2 separate regions of the Homo sapiens genome follow, and region 1 is linked to region 2. The links are contacts of gene promoters, found by promoter capture Hi-C in human tissues and cell types (Jung and others, 2019). All regions are on one chromosome and are shown on one strand. Each heading gives the region's core, a stretch centred on a gene start or on the middle of the fragment in contact. The rest is flanking DNA. Distances are from core to core; before and after follow the strand shown. Region 1 holds the start of LOC124902858 (a long non-coding RNA gene). Region 2 holds the start of LRTM2 (leucine rich repeat transmembrane protein 2).

Evidence for each region. Contacts are between HindIII fragments. The study calls those that stand out against the background at their distance.
Region 1: a contact is called between a fragment that was not itself captured here and the fragment with the promoter of LRTM2 in region 2, in 7 of the 25 tissues and cell types used here (IMR-90 fibroblasts, bladder, dorsolateral prefrontal cortex and 4 more).

What each region holds. Positions count from the first base shown.
Region 1 is chr12:1,883,843-1,890,741 of GRCh38, forward strand. It overlaps CACNA2D4 (calcium voltage-gated channel auxiliary subunit alpha2delta 4), which reads right to left. Exons shown (of 38, transcript NM_172364.5): 7 at 3,167-3,227; 8 at 2,381-2,531; 9 at 2,123-2,197; 10 at 1,145-1,234; 11 at 926-1,039; 12 at 401-479. It overlaps LOC124902858 (a long non-coding RNA gene), which reads left to right and starts at 364. Exons shown (of 3, transcript XR_007063158.1): 1 at 364-461; 2 at 2,013-2,208; 3 at 2,414-5,600. The HindIII fragment of the contact is 3,944 bases long and covers 204-4,147 here.
Region 2 is chr12:1,815,094-1,822,735 of GRCh38, forward strand. It overlaps LRTM2 (leucine rich repeat transmembrane protein 2), which reads left to right and starts at 5,472. Exons shown (of 5, transcript NM_001039029.3): 1 at 5,472-5,721. All of the region lies in intron 26 of CACNA2D4 (calcium voltage-gated channel auxiliary subunit alpha2delta 4), which reads right to left. LOC105369601 (a long non-coding RNA gene) reads left to right here. Exons shown (of 5, transcript XR_931546.3): 3 at 631-875; 4 at 989-1,040; 5 at 2,141-3,713. RefSeq lists an enhancer at 5,042-5,788. The HindIII fragment of the contact is 8,239 bases long and covers 121-7,642 here.

The DNA.
Region 1 (6,899 bases), core at 926-3,425, 65 kb after region 2:
GGTCCCCTGGTGCCTGGAAATGGGGCCAGGTGCATAGTGGATGCTCAGTGAATTTTTGTTGAATCAATGGGGTCTGGTCAGAGATAGATGAGGACCATTCACACACAAAACATTATTCCAGAGAAAACAGTGACCCTCTGCTTTTTGTCTGGGAGCAGAACCAGAGTCCATGGCTTACTTTGCTGAAAGAAAGAATGGGGGCAGGATGGAGACAGAGCTGACATTGTCTCACCTTGCTTTTTCCAAATATGAAGGAGGGACTGAGGCTGCTGTTCTTGACATAGCACTGCTCCTCTTAGGGGCCCATGGGGAAGCCCGTGCTCAGCACTTCCAGGGCTGGGTAACCCTGTCTCCTGTGCTCAGGTGCAGGTGGGAAGGTACCTGCTGGCCCGGCACTCACCTTTGTTGTTGCATGCAATCCACTTCATGCGGTCAGCAAAAGACACTTCTCTCCCAATGAGGTAAGTGAAAACTCGGACCTAACCCACAAGACACAGAGGCACTCAGCAGCAAAATTCCCGGCCATAAGTAATGTTAACATTGTTTATATGAGTCTTAGATGTTGGCCCCAGTGCCTCTCAGTCTTCGGGTTCTCCAATTTCACCCCCTGAGGCCCAGGCAGCAACACAATTCGCCCAGGGCCATGGGGACTGCGGGTAGGTGCAAGGCTGAGATTTACAGCCTGGCAGTTCTGATGTCCCCAAACCATATTCTGGTCCCTTACCCCAAACTTCCTACATCAGGCCTCTGTGTCTCGGGTAGCCATAATTTTGGAACACTCAATTAAAATGCATCTGAAAGCAAGAATGGCTCTAATAGGAAAGCAGATTTGAATGGGGGCCATCCTTCTAGGGTCCCTGCTGGTGATCCCATCCATGGCAGCAGGAGAAGCTTTTTTCTCCCTGGACACCCGTGGGAGGGTCACCTTACAGTCTGGCCAGTTATACTTCTCAAACACCGGCTCGTAGTCCTCCACGGCGCCGTCGCTGATGAGCATGATGGCCTGGTTGCAGAGGCTTCCTTGCTTGGCCTCTTGGAACTGTGTAGGGAAGAGGAGTGCCCATGACCACAGGCCAAGCCCACCCCCCTCCACCTGCCGCCTTCCTCCCAGTCCTCCCCTCCCAGGCCTCATTACAGTGGGCACCTGCTTCAGGATCTGGAAGGCTTCTCTCAGGGCTTGGTCCACGACCCCCACACCTTTGACCATCAACTCCTCCACCAGCAGTTTGAAATGCTGCCATGGGTGAGATATTAGAGAAGCATCAGGGGGTTGAGTGGGCCAGTGGAGCTTCATGTTTGGTGTTAATTTGGGAGGCTGTTTAGGGCCATCCAGAAGGACATGATTTCAGGGCCTGTGTCTCCATGATGCAGTTCATGGACTGGTCCTCTACAATAGGTGTTTCTCAAATGTCCCCAAGATAAACTGAGAGAGGGGAAATGACTTGGTACACATCCATGGCCACTATTGATGGGAAACGCCAAGTGTGAAGCTGAGTACAGGGGGAGGACAGTTCTGGGATGGAGGCAGGGTAACCTCGGCTCCCAGACCACAGCCCGCAGCCCGCAGCCCAGGGGTGCACACTTCACAGCAGAAAGTGTGGAGGTGCCCAGGGCAGAGGCCCGGCTTCAAGAGGAACTCAAACCCCAACTCCTCCATCACAGAGGGAGGAATCTATGATGTGCAAAAGCTCTCTTTAAAAAATTATTGCCATGTCCTCTCCTCCTTGGTCTTTTACCAGAGGAAAGGATGACACTCAATGAAGTTTAAATTTGTCCTCCTTTCGGGGAAGCTTCTCATGAAAACTGACATAATGGAAAGGTCCAGGTGGGAGGCAAAAGGGGAAATTGAGTCCTATATAATCCACAGGGTGAAAAACCAGTCCTGAATAAGGAAGGTTCCCTTTGCTATGAGGTCTCTATCTGCTCACTGTTTGCTCTGATAAGCAGCAGTGTGTTTACAGGGCGGTTCCCTGGGTTGTTTGCATGGGTAACGTGCTCTGCTCTCATTCCAGGTGCCATGGGAATAAGCAAAAAGGGCCACAGAAACAGTCTACAGAGACAACCGCCCACCATCCAGACAAGAGCAGGGGCTTGGAAGTCTCAGGCCACCGTGGACACTCACCTCTCGATTGTCTCGGTCCGCCTGGACGAGGATCCCTTTAAAACAAGGCTCGATGTAATGGACGTAGTCATTGTACTGCAGTTGCAGTGAGTTGAGGGGAGGTGGGGGGAGAATAAACAGCATCAGGTTGCAAAGTCCAGGCCCAGCAAAGACACTCATGCAGGTCACCGGGTGGTCAGGGGTTGTGGGTCACCTTGGTACCTGTGTATGATTTCTAGAGCAAGTGAGAGCTATTCTAGAACAGGAAGGCACATTTACCGCTATGATATTAATGAAGTCATTCTCCCCCAGGGTGTCCAAGATGGTGGTGATGGTGTGCTTGGCAATAGTCATCCTCAGCCCCTTCATACTGCCGCTCACGTCCACCAAAATCACTATGTCCTTGGGAGAAGTAGCAGCTTGAATGTACCTGAAGGAAGAAAGGGACATGCCCAAGATGGGAAAACCAAAGCCGGAACCAATACCTGACCAAGGGGTCTGCAGTTATTTCTGTTCAGATGCTGGCTCGAGCCCACCCAAAGTTCAGGGCAACCCATCTATGCCAGGTTTCACATGTTCCATAACCACTTGACACAGTGCTGAAGCCATCTGGGGTGGCAGTGGTTGGGGATGTGCCACCTAACAGGCCAGGTCAAGCCCTGGAGGTAACGCTTGTTCCTTTTGATTTAGACCAACCGGGGTCCCTGAGGGGCTGGCAGCAGAAAGGGAGAGAGCTGGGCTTCAGATTCTGTTACCAACTTGCCACAAAAGGGGTGTGGAAGGAGAGGAGAGCCTAACAAAAGGTTGACGTGGAGACAGCTCAGTGTCCTGGCAGGAGGTTTAGGTTGGGAAAGACAAACATGATCAGTCCTGGAGCAAGGCAATTGTAGAGGGAAGGGAGGAATGCTGGCCCTCTTCCTGCTCTTGTGTCGGGCTAGGGTTCTACACACCCAAGGCCCTTGAGTGGCGGTGGGGGAAGGGGCGGAAGTGGAGGAGGATGAGGCAAAACCCAAAAGCTATGAGATAAATACCCGGGCCGCAAACCTTTCCCCTGTGAGCTCTTACCAGCCGCGGTTTCGGCAGTCAAAAGTAATGACTCCATTCTCATCAGGTGTCCATTTTATACCTGGGAGAATAAAGACTCGTTCTTTTACTAGCTTGGTGAGGCCACCCCAGATCCCCTGGCTGGGTGTGGACCCCCAAGATGGCCATGATCCCCAGGGCAGAACAGCTTTGGAGCTAGGGAACAGGGTGGGGAACACTGGGACATGCCCTGTAGACTGAGACAAGCTGGCAAGGAGACATCTACCAGCCAAACTGCCCAGATGCAGAGCTGGGGGTAATTTCACAGGTAGGACCACATAGGTGGTGCCTGGGACTCATTTGTGAGGCAAAACCTCATATCAAATAGTGGAGGGGGAAGCTTTGGAGAAGTGTGACTTTTAACATCCATTACCATCCAGCAAAGTGTGGACAAAATGTTGAAAAAGGCAAGTGCTCTGACTTCTAACACACTTGCCTCTAGGTGTTAAGCTCATTAGCACTCAGGATCCTTCCTGTTGGCTGGGATGGGAGAAATGATTTGGCTCTATGACTGTAGGCTCTTTGAGGTCAGGGATTCCTAGAACCCAGCAGAGTATATGCTTAATAAATGTCTGTTACTTGAATGAAAGGACAAATGAATGGATATGAAAGATCTTGCGTTGACCCAGTAGCAGAATGCTGGTGTAGATTTTTATCCTATCCACCTAATAAAAAAATTTGTATAGATGCACAGAAAACACTGACATGATCCACAATAGAATCTCGATTTGAAAAGACTTTATGATTGGGAATAGTGGGTTTAAAAGAAGAAGAGTAAAAATAACAGGTGGAATTGCAATATGTTGTGATTGGGATAGACAAAATGATTGTAGCAGTATTATGAATGTCTAGAAGCTCCAAGGGCCCTTCCTCCTCCACAGTGGTTAGACTTCAGATGACATACACCCTTTGAGGCATTGCTGGCATCTCAAAGGTAGGAGAGGTTGTCAGAGACCATGATCTCAAAACCAAACAAATGAGAACAGAGCCCCAGGCGTGAGGCATATGTGTGAGGTCAGCTAGCACCCAAAGCCTTGAAGGTGGGAAGCAGAGCCATGGGAGTGTGGTGTGATGGGAGCTTGAGTACCACTGGTCTGACCTAGTCTTGCAGGCAGTCATGGGAGGTAGGGCTTTCCTGAGGCCACATTCTTACAGCAACATGGTCATGGGGAATTTGATCCTTAGAACAGCAATGAGGAGGAGAAGCTGAGTCTGAGATTACTGGCTCTTAACCAAAATCTTCGAAGAGGACTTTGGAGGTCCTGGATGAGGGTACCCTCAAGTCCAAGCGGAAACAGAAGCGAATTTTCTTGTGGATTCCCAACTCAGACCCACTGGACTCTGAAGAGGACAAGCAGCATGGCCTCACAAGCAAAGATTCCCAAATACATAAGGAGCAGACCCCTATTAGTGGGAGGCAGCAGACTCAAGAGCTACCTCAAGAGCTGGATATAGCTTCTCAAGAATTACAGATGTTGGAATGGCCAAATACCAAACACAAACTAGGTAGGTATGAGAAGAACACATAATACAAAGAACATACAAGAAATGACCAGGAATGAAGAAACAGCCTTGCAAATATGAAGCTTTCGGAGATGAAAAAATGTATAGGTTGAAAAAAATAAATTAAATGGATAGTGCTTTATTCATGGGTAAAAAGAAAATGCATACATTTGTGGATGTATCCAGAGTTCTACTGAGGCTGGAATGAGAAGGTTTAATACACATCTGATTGGAGTCACAGAAAGAGAAAAGGGAGAGCATGGAGGAAAGGTGATGGTTGAAGAGATGATACTGGCAAATATTCTAGAACTGATTAAAAATCCAATTCCACAGATCTAGGAAGCACAGCGTATCCCAAACAGCATGAATAAAAAGATATCCACATATAGACACATAGTATTGGAACTGCAGAACTTCGAAGGCAAATAAATAAATAAACAAATACCACGAAGGCAGCCAGAAAGCCCACGACACCTACAAAGGAAGAGCAGTTAAACTGGTAGATTTTCCCAACATCAATGAAAGCCAGAAGACAGTGGATAAACAGTTTTAAGATGTTGAGAGAATAGAATTATTGATTTAGAATTGCATTGTCAGCAAAACTATCATTCAAGAATGAGGATAAAAGGAAACATTTGTAGATAAACACAATCTAAAGCAGTTTATACTGAAGTCCCCACTGTAAAGGAACTTCTGGAGGACTTACTTTAAGAAGAAGGGGAATGATATGGGAAAAACATCCTCACATGCATGAGGGAATGGTGAACAAATAAAATGGTAAATAAGTCATTAATTCCAAGTAAGTGATGTTTATATCAAATAACAATACTTGTGTGTCTGATTTGTGGGGATGAAAAATTTGAAATATTGACAATAGAATGGAAGTCTAGAATAAAGAGATGGAAGCACAAAAGTTCTAAAGGCCTTTGTTGACTGAGTAGAGAGCAAAAATATTATTTAATTTTAATTTTTTATTTTTAGAGATGGGATCCTGCTATATTGCCCAGGATGGTCCTGAACTCCTGGGCAAGGGAACCTCCTGCCTCAGCCGCCCCCCCCAGTAGCTGGAACTATAGGTACAAACCAAGTTCCCAGCTTAATTTTAAAATGTTATTGTATTAAATATGCCTGATAAGACTTCAGGGGTAATAACTGAAAGAATAAAAACAAGGGGACAAGTTCTAAAGTGCTAGAGAGAAAAAAAGTTATATTGGGGAAATTTATTTTTTAAATGTTAAGTATTTAAAAAGGAAAAAAGGAGAAAAAGAAAATATAAAAACACCAGGACAAGTAAAAATTTAAAAAATAAGATAATAGACTTCAAGATGGCTGACTAGAGGCATCTGGTACTTTCCTCCTCCACAAAGAAGGACAAAAATAGCAGGTAGATAATCACACTTTGAATAGATCATCCAAGAGAGAACATTGGAATTCAACAGAGAAGTGACAGGAAACACCTAAAGCAAGGAAGGAGACGGAAGCAAGTCACCCTGCTTGGCCAGGATTGGCTGGGAGCCTCTCCAGGTTGCTCAATGCAATGAAAGGATAAGTGAGAGACCCCCAGCAGTCCACATTCCCACCATGGATTCCTGCAATCCTAGCCGCAGGAGAGCCTCTAGACTCTTGTAGGCCTTAAGACTAACATAGGGAGCTGCCTGGAGCCTGGGTGAGGGCATTGCTCCAGAGAGGGAGCTCACACTGGATCTCATACACCCCCAGATCTCTAAGCAGCTGCAGCACAGCACGATATCAAGAGTCCAGACTCCACCAGACTGCGTCCTGCCTGGGGGCCCAACAGCTTCTGGATCTTCATATCCCTGGAGAACCACTGACATTTCCTTCCCACAGCCACCACCATGGCTGGATGCTGCCACCAGGGCTGAAGCGTGAGCTATTGGCAATAACCCCACTGCCCTTGGCAGTGAAATCACCACAAATTTTCATGCACCCTGAAGACAAAATCCTCCATGTACAGCCGTTGCACTGTGGGCTGCTGCCAACAGGGATGAAGCACAAGTGAAGCAAGCATTCGCCAGCCGCCTGCATCTGGCTGCTGCCACTGAAAGCAACCTCACCCTCCCCAATAGCAGGGCTGCCACACAGCCACTGCTGCCCCAACCCGAGCATTCCACCAGGGGCCAAGGGATCACCCCACCCTTGCCTACCACAGCCAGTGTCTGCATGCCCCAGCAGAGGGCATTGGGACAGGTCC
Region 2 (7,642 bases), core at 4,222-6,721:
GCTGGCCAGGCTGGTCTCAAACTCTTGACCTCAAGTGATCCACCTGCCTCAGCCTCCCAAAGTGCTGGGACTACAGGCGTGAGTCATTATGCCTGGTCCCCATTGATCTTAAAATCTAAACTTGCAAGATGGCCACAGGAACTGGCTCTGCTGATTTCTCTGATTTCATCCAGAAACACTTCACCTCTCAAACATGTTAAGCTCATTCTCACCCCAGGGCATTTGTACCAGCTGTTCTCTCCTCCTGGAATGCCCTTCCCCTAGAACTTTACATGGCTGGCTCCTTCCCATCGTCAGGTCTCAGCCCAATATCATCTCCTAGAGTGGCTGTCCCTGGCCTCCCGAGATAAAGCCAGCCAGGGGGACCTCCCTCACTTTCACTCTCTACCTTATTACTTTTTAAATTTTCTAAGTGACATGATTTGTTCATCTATTTGATTTCTCATTTATTGTCTGTCTGGGGCTAATAGCAGGCAGGGGATTGAGTTTTGATCCCCAGCACCTAGAATCGTACCTATCACAGTGTGACTCCATAAATTTTTCTTGAGCTACGTAAGCAAATTCAATTTGAGCCAGCCACTTGACGGGGAAGCCGAATTCTACCAGGTCTCACTGTCCCTTCCCTCCCAGCTTCAGGGGCCTTGCTGACCTCCTTCCTCTCCATTTTGCTGTGCCCTCTCACTGTCCCTGAACTTGAGATCCTGGAGGTTTAGCTGTGCTCTGGGTCCCTTGAAGACTTCGGAGGCAATCCACTAAGAAATGGGGATTTAAGTGAGACATGAAGAAGAACTTCCTTATGGCAAGAACTATAAGATGTTGAAGACAAGACACAGTATTGGGAGTAAAGGCGGTGAGGCACGGAAATATATTTACCAGTGAGTCAACGGTGTTCTGCCGTGCCCAACCGCTTGCATCCCCTGGCTTGCATCATATTGAATCCTTCTGTCAACTGCAGTCCCACAACCCAAGTTGTGCTTTTCCACTCCAGACACCCAGGGAACCGAGTCTTCTCCCCCAGGATCCCTGCTCTGCTCGTTCAGGTGAGTGGTTACTTGCGGGGAGGACTGCCCTTCCTCCCATCATCTCCTGCTAGCCAGCTGTGTGCAGGAGACAACACCTTATGATATTATGTTTGCAGACAAGCTCACACCTTTCGGTGAAGAGAAATTCAGGCAAAGGGCCCGAGGGAATGCAAAGCACTCGGCTTTTCCTGTTGCTTTCCTGGGAGTTATCAGGAAAGCTTCCCTCATGCCTGTGCATGGTGGGCCCCTGTTTTAGACCCTGACCTTCGTCCCCAGGAGGGCCTGTCATGACCTGAAAGAGGAGGACAAATCTCAGACCCCTTCCTGCCCCAGCGGGCCTCCTGCCCCAGCTGACCTGGGTCCCTTCCCTCCCTCCTGTCCTCCCTCTCTGGGCTGTCCCTTGCCTTCCCTCTCTGCCCTGCCTCTCCACATTGATCTCGTGCCTTCCTCCCAAGCAGCTTTCCTGTAAGATCGCAGCTCAGCTCCGCTGGCAGACAACCTAACAAAGAGCCTCAATAAGGCCAGACCCGCAGGCGGCTTATCAAGATGTACGTCTTTGCTGTGCACACAGACTGTCACCTCGGTGCTGCTGTGTCATCACAGAAGGCAAAACCAAACAACTGTGCATGCACACACACATACATGCACACACATGGACACACACATATATGCACACACGGACACACATGCATGCACACACACTTGCACACACATACCCATGCACGCACACATGGACACACAGGCATACGCACACACTTGCACACACATGCATATACACGTGCACCATGCACATGCACACATACGTACACACACATGCACATACATAGCATGCACATGAACATATGAGTTTGCACACTGTTGAGTGCTGTGGTCCCAGGAGTCAGAAGCTCCAGCTTTGCCCTCCTAGCCCTTTATCTGCTTCTCTTTCCTCCTCCTCTGTCTTGAGAACCTAACCAGGAGACTGCGTGTTGCACGGGATAGGGACTGTGGGGCATGAGAGGGATCATCTTTTGTAACACAAGCTGAGGACCCGACAGGTGCACAGCGAATACTTAGGTCACAGAAGGCCAGTGCCAGAAGGGAGACCAGAGATCTCAACCCATCTCCTCATTCTGCAGGGCAGGAATCCCAGCCAGCACAAGGCCCAGGGCTGCTGAGTGAACTCACTAGCTAGCTAGTCACTGAGCAACAGAGTCTGGAGTCTGGGTCCCCTGATGCCCAGTCTTGAGCTCTTTCATGTCCTCCATTCCTCACTCAGTTGACACGAAGGCACTGGGGCCTGAAGGACACGGAACAGGTGAGGCCAGTCCCCCTGCTTGAACAGCTCTGTGTAGGAAAGGAGATGACTCCCTCTCCCCTCTCCCCTCTCCCCACGGTCTCCCTCTCCCTCTCTTTCCCCGGTCTCCCTCTGATGCCGAGCCGAAGCTGGACTGTACTGCTGCCATCTCGGCTCACTGCAACCTCCCTGCCTGATTCTCCTGCCTCAGCCTGCCAAGTGCCTGCGATTGCAGGCGTGCGCCGCCACGCCTGACTGGTTTTCATATTTTTTTGGTGGAGACGGGGTTTCGCTGTGTTGGCCGGGCTGGTCTCCAGCTCCTAACCGCGAGTGATCCGCCAGCCTCGGCCTCCCGAGGTGCCGGGATTGCAGACGGAGTCTGGTTCACTCAGTGCTCAATGGTGCCCAGGCTGGAGTGCAGTGGCGTGATCTCGGCTCGCTACAACCTCCACCTCCCAGCCGCCTGCCTTGGCCTCCCAAAGTGCCGAGATTGCAGCCTCTGCCCGGCCACCACCCCGTCTGGGAAGTGAGGAGCGTCTCCGCCTGGCCGCCCATCGTCTGGGATGTGAGGAGCCTCTCTGTCTGGCTGCCCAGTCTGGGAAGTGAGGAGCGCCTCTGCCCGGCCGCCATCCCATCTAGGAAGTGAGGAGCGTCTCTGCCCGGCCGCCCATCGTCTGAGATGTGGGGAGCGCCTCTGCCCCACCGCCCCGTCTGGGATGTGAGGAGCGTCTCTTCCCGGCCGCGACCCCGTCTGGGAAGTGAGGAGCCCCTCCGCCCGGCAGCCGCCCCGTCTGAGAAGTGAGGAGCGTCTCCGCCCGGCCGCCCCTACTGGGAAGTGAGGAGCCCCTCTGCCCGGCCACCACCCAGTCTGGGAGGTGTGCCCAACAGCTCATTGAGAACGGGCCAGGATGACAATGGTGGCTTTGTGGAATAGAAAGGCGGGAAAGGTGGGGAAAAGATTGAGAAATCGGATGGTTGCCGTGTCTGTGTAGAAAGAAGTAGACATGGGAGACTTTTCATTTTGTTCTGCACTAAGAAAAATTCCTCTGTCTTGGGATCCTGTTGATCTGTGACCTTACTCCCAACCCTGTGCTCACTGAAACATGTGCTGTGTCCACTCAGGGTTAAATGGATTAAGGGCGGTGCAAGATGTGCTTTGTTAAACAGATGCTTGAAGGCAGCATGCTCGTTAAAAGTCATCACCACTCCCTAATCTCAAGTACCCAGGGACACAAACACTGCGGAAGGCCGCAGGGTCCTCTGCCTAGGAAAACCAGAGACCTTTGTTCACTTGTTTATCTGCTGACCTTCCCTCCACTATTGTCCTATGACCCTGCCAAATCCCCCTCTGCGAGAAACACCCAAGAATGATCAATAAAAAATAAATAAATAAATTAAAAAAAAAAAAAAAGAGTCATCACCACTCCCTAATCTCAAGTACCCAGGGACACAAACACTGCGGAAGGCGGCAGGGCCCTCTGCCTAGGAAAACCAGAGACCTTTGTTCACATGTTTATCTGCTGACCTTCCCTCCACTATTGTCCTATGACCCTGCCAAATCCCCCTCTCCGAGAAACACCCAAGAATGATCAATAAATACTAAAAAAATTAAAAAAAAAAAAAAAAGGAAAGGAGATGAAGCAGACCACAGAAAGCTCCTGCACAACATGAGGGTGGCCCAAAGAGAATGCCAGAGATCGGAGGAGGAGCAGGGCCAGTCCTGTGGTGTTCCGGGGAAACGTCACCTTGCAGGGGGCGTTTAAGGAAGGGGGAAGCCACCCATGGGCAGGAGAGCATTTCAGGCCCAGGGAAGAACACGCTTTCATGGAGATGGAGAAGCAGGAAGTATGTTTATGGGGAGGTGGGAGCCTCTTTTGCTTGACAGTGGGATGTGTGGGAGGCACCAGCATGAGAGGTCAGAGGCGGGACTCCCCAGAGGTAAAAGACACTGCAGCTCAAGCCTTGTGCTGCCCGGGGACCCGGCAGAACGGACAGAAGGGAGTGAGCAGGAGCATCCTTCTAGGGGCATCCTGAGTCCAGGGGGTTCTTCTACACCCACCCCAGTCCTGGCTGTGAACCCCTCCAGCAAAGCAGGCAAAATGGAAGAGGGACATAGGACACGGTGATATATCGCTAGCACGGTGCTTCATCTGTCTACAGGCAGTGGACGCAAAGGAAGGGGGATTTAGGGTTCGTGCTCCAGGCTGGTGGGGCCCTGGCTCCCCTCTAGCTTGGTCCCTGACTCACTTGGCCTTCAGATCAGCCACTTCCCATCTCTTAGGATATCAATTTTTCTGACTTGCTTTGTCCTGATTGGTTAAGAAAGAGGCCTCCAAGTTCTTGAATGACAGTCTCTTCCCTTCGCATGCCTGACCCATCACAGATAAGAGCAAGGAGCCCTGAGAAGCCAAGCTCGTCCCTGGCACTGAGAACGGTCTGCAGGCTGCTGCTGCAGGCTGCCCTGTGCCCAAACTCCCAGCCTGCCAACTCTGGCATTCTGCTTCCCTAAGTAGTCCTGGCGTCGGGTGGTCAGACCCTGAGGCTCAGTGACCTCTGCATGACCATGTGATCCCTGGCTTTGTGGGGGCTCAGGGCCCTTTCCTGTAGGGTCATCTGGCACATGGACATGCCTGTGTACCCTTCTTTCGTATGACCGAGAGAAGGGTTCGGTTTTTCCTTCTCTCAGGCAGGATGGGAGACTCTGCCTCGCATGTCTCTAAAACAGGAGAAAGACCAGCTTCCCAGGGGGGCCTCCATCGGAACAGAAGTCAGCCGCTTGCTCTGTGTCTGCGCCTGTCCCTCTTTCCCCAGATGGAGGGGAAGAGAGGAGAGAGGCACAGAAGACAGGTGCAGCCGGGGGGGTGAGGGAGAGCCTGGAGGCGCAGGATGGAAGATGGAGGTGGTGGTGAAACCGCTTTCCTCCTCCCTGTGGTCGGCAGCGATTCATCCACAGGCGCCTTTTTCCACTGAAATGTGAGCGTGGCCAGGGTGAGCGCTGCCCTCGCGGCCGGCCGTGGTGCCTCTGGTGTGCGCCTGTGTGTGCTGCTGCCGCTGTCATCACAGATGCACCCCAGCTGTCACTCCCCGCTCCACTCTGGCTCGCTGCTCGCGCACACGCGTGCGCTCTCCTCCCTCGCCCCTTTCTTCCCTCTCTCCTCTCTCTCTCTCCCTCCATCCCTCTCTTTCCTTCTCAGTTTGTGACTGACCCAGCAGCCCCGTCCCCCGTCTGCCACAAGCAGTCCACCTCCTGGTGCTGTGTGCTGCGTGCCAGCCGCTGCTCCCGCTGAGTGGAGACTCTGGCACCAGTGCCCACTGCGCTCTGCCTGCCGGTGGTGTCTGGATTTCTATAGGAATCCCAGGAGGGTCTTACTGGAGGGTTGAGAGCCACCTGATTGAAGGCGTTTGCAGTCAGAGTAAAGACGGGTGAGTACCGAGTGGCTGGTAGGAAGGAATGGAGGGTTGGTGGGGACAGGGGGTGGTCGGGGCATGGGAAGTGGGCACCGGCCATCTCTGCCCTGCAGGAATAGCTGCAGTTGCTTCCTACCTGCAGGCAATTGCTGGGGCCGAAGAAGCTGCTCGGGCTCAGGCACCTGAGCATCCCAAAGGTGCACGACACTGGGAACTCTGAGCCCACAGTGCTGGGGACAAGAGCTGTGGATTCTGCTGGGAAGTGGGGAGGAGGGCAGCGCTGGCGCCAGATGACAGTCCCGGGTGGCATAGAAACCGGTCCCTGCAGCATGGGAGAAGCAGCCAAGAGCCTTGTGCTGTCGTTGTGCCCGGCTCTGCACAGACAGCCCCAAGAAACTCGGGGGTCATGGGAAGCGGTTGGGATGGCAGTCAGGTGCTGGGGACAGGGCCAGGTCAGAGGAAGGCTTGGGGTGGAGGGTGGCAGGGAGGAGGTCCTGGATGTCAGAGGCATGGGCACAGACCCAGGTCCTGGGCCTCCCTATAGCTTGCCTGCAGGTGGCTGTCCTTGGACAAGGGTGTGGAGGAACCCTCCCCCAGATGAGCATGGGCCCACTCAGCTGTGCATGAAGCCTCCCTGGTGAGGGTGAGGCTGGGAGTGGGCAGGAGAGAGAAGTATCGCAGCCCTTCCCTGCTAGCCCAAGGGCAAGACAGGAGAACCAGGCCCGCGAGAACCTGCTGGGGTGTCCCGCAGCTGTGCACCCAGCCGTCCATCTGCAAATGGGTCAGGGAGCCTTAGTGGGGGCTGGACACTGAGCTTGGGTGGGGGGTACACAGCGGGGCCAGGCCTGCCTGGCTTCTTGACCCACACAGGGGGCATGGACACCCTGAGTAGAGCGGGACAGTTGCTCTCAATCCCCCAGACCCATTTGGACAGTGCTGGAGAGAGGAGCAGCCTGACCAGGAGTCGGAAGTTCACATTCCTGCACCTCCCTGCAGGTCTGGGGCTGGGTTCCAGTTGGCGGCCCTGTCTCTCCCCCACCCCCAAGCTGTCCACATTTCTGGGGGGTGTTGGCACCCGGCTGTCAGGGCTACTTGGGCAGTGTCTCTTTGTGACTCAGATGACACCCCTGCAGCTTAGATAACTGCCTCAGGTGGGGGCGGGGAGGGAGCCGAGCACGTGGAGCTGAGGCGGGGGAAGTCCAGCTGGTAGGGAAACCCGACAGCAGCTTCCGAGCTGCCAAGAAGAGCCCAGCTTTTCCCACCCCCACCTCCCCACCGGCAGAAAGAAAGTCTCAGCACTGCCAAAAGAGGGAGACCAGGAAAGCCAGGCCCGCGGGGAGGGGTAAGGAGAGAGGCTGCTTAAGCAGCCGATCTGGTGTCTTTGGGGTTTGACAGAAGCTTGTCTGGGCCCACGAGGAGCAAACTCTGCTCCCGTTTCCCAGGCACCAGAGCCCAGGGGCCGCCTCTGGGCTGCTATGGCCTCAGTGGGCAGTGTAGGAAGGAGGAGGGGATGGCATGTATGTGATGGTTGGGGGTGTCTGGGAGTTCTGGGGGTGGGCAGAGGAGAAAGGAGCCAGCATAGAGGCTGTCTGCCCCTCTGGTCTTCCTCCTTTTTCCCCCAGCCAAGCCTCCTGTGCCCTGCCTGGGAATACCACCCTGAGCCCAGCCCCAGGGACACCACCCTGAGCCCGGCCCCAGGGCCCAGTGGACACCTTAGCCTCCTTCATGTCAGGGACCAGCTCCCATGAGGGGCCACTCAGGAGGCTTCTCTGTTCTGCTTCCCAGAGGGTCTGTTTGAGATTGAGAATATTTGACAAGGAAACGGGGGTGCAGGAGGCTGGGGGTGAGGATGGGGCATGTGTTTTAAAATGAACCAGGAGGGTATATGGCTGTTCCAAGTACAAATATAGAGATTTTTAAAACCTGGTTCCTTGCT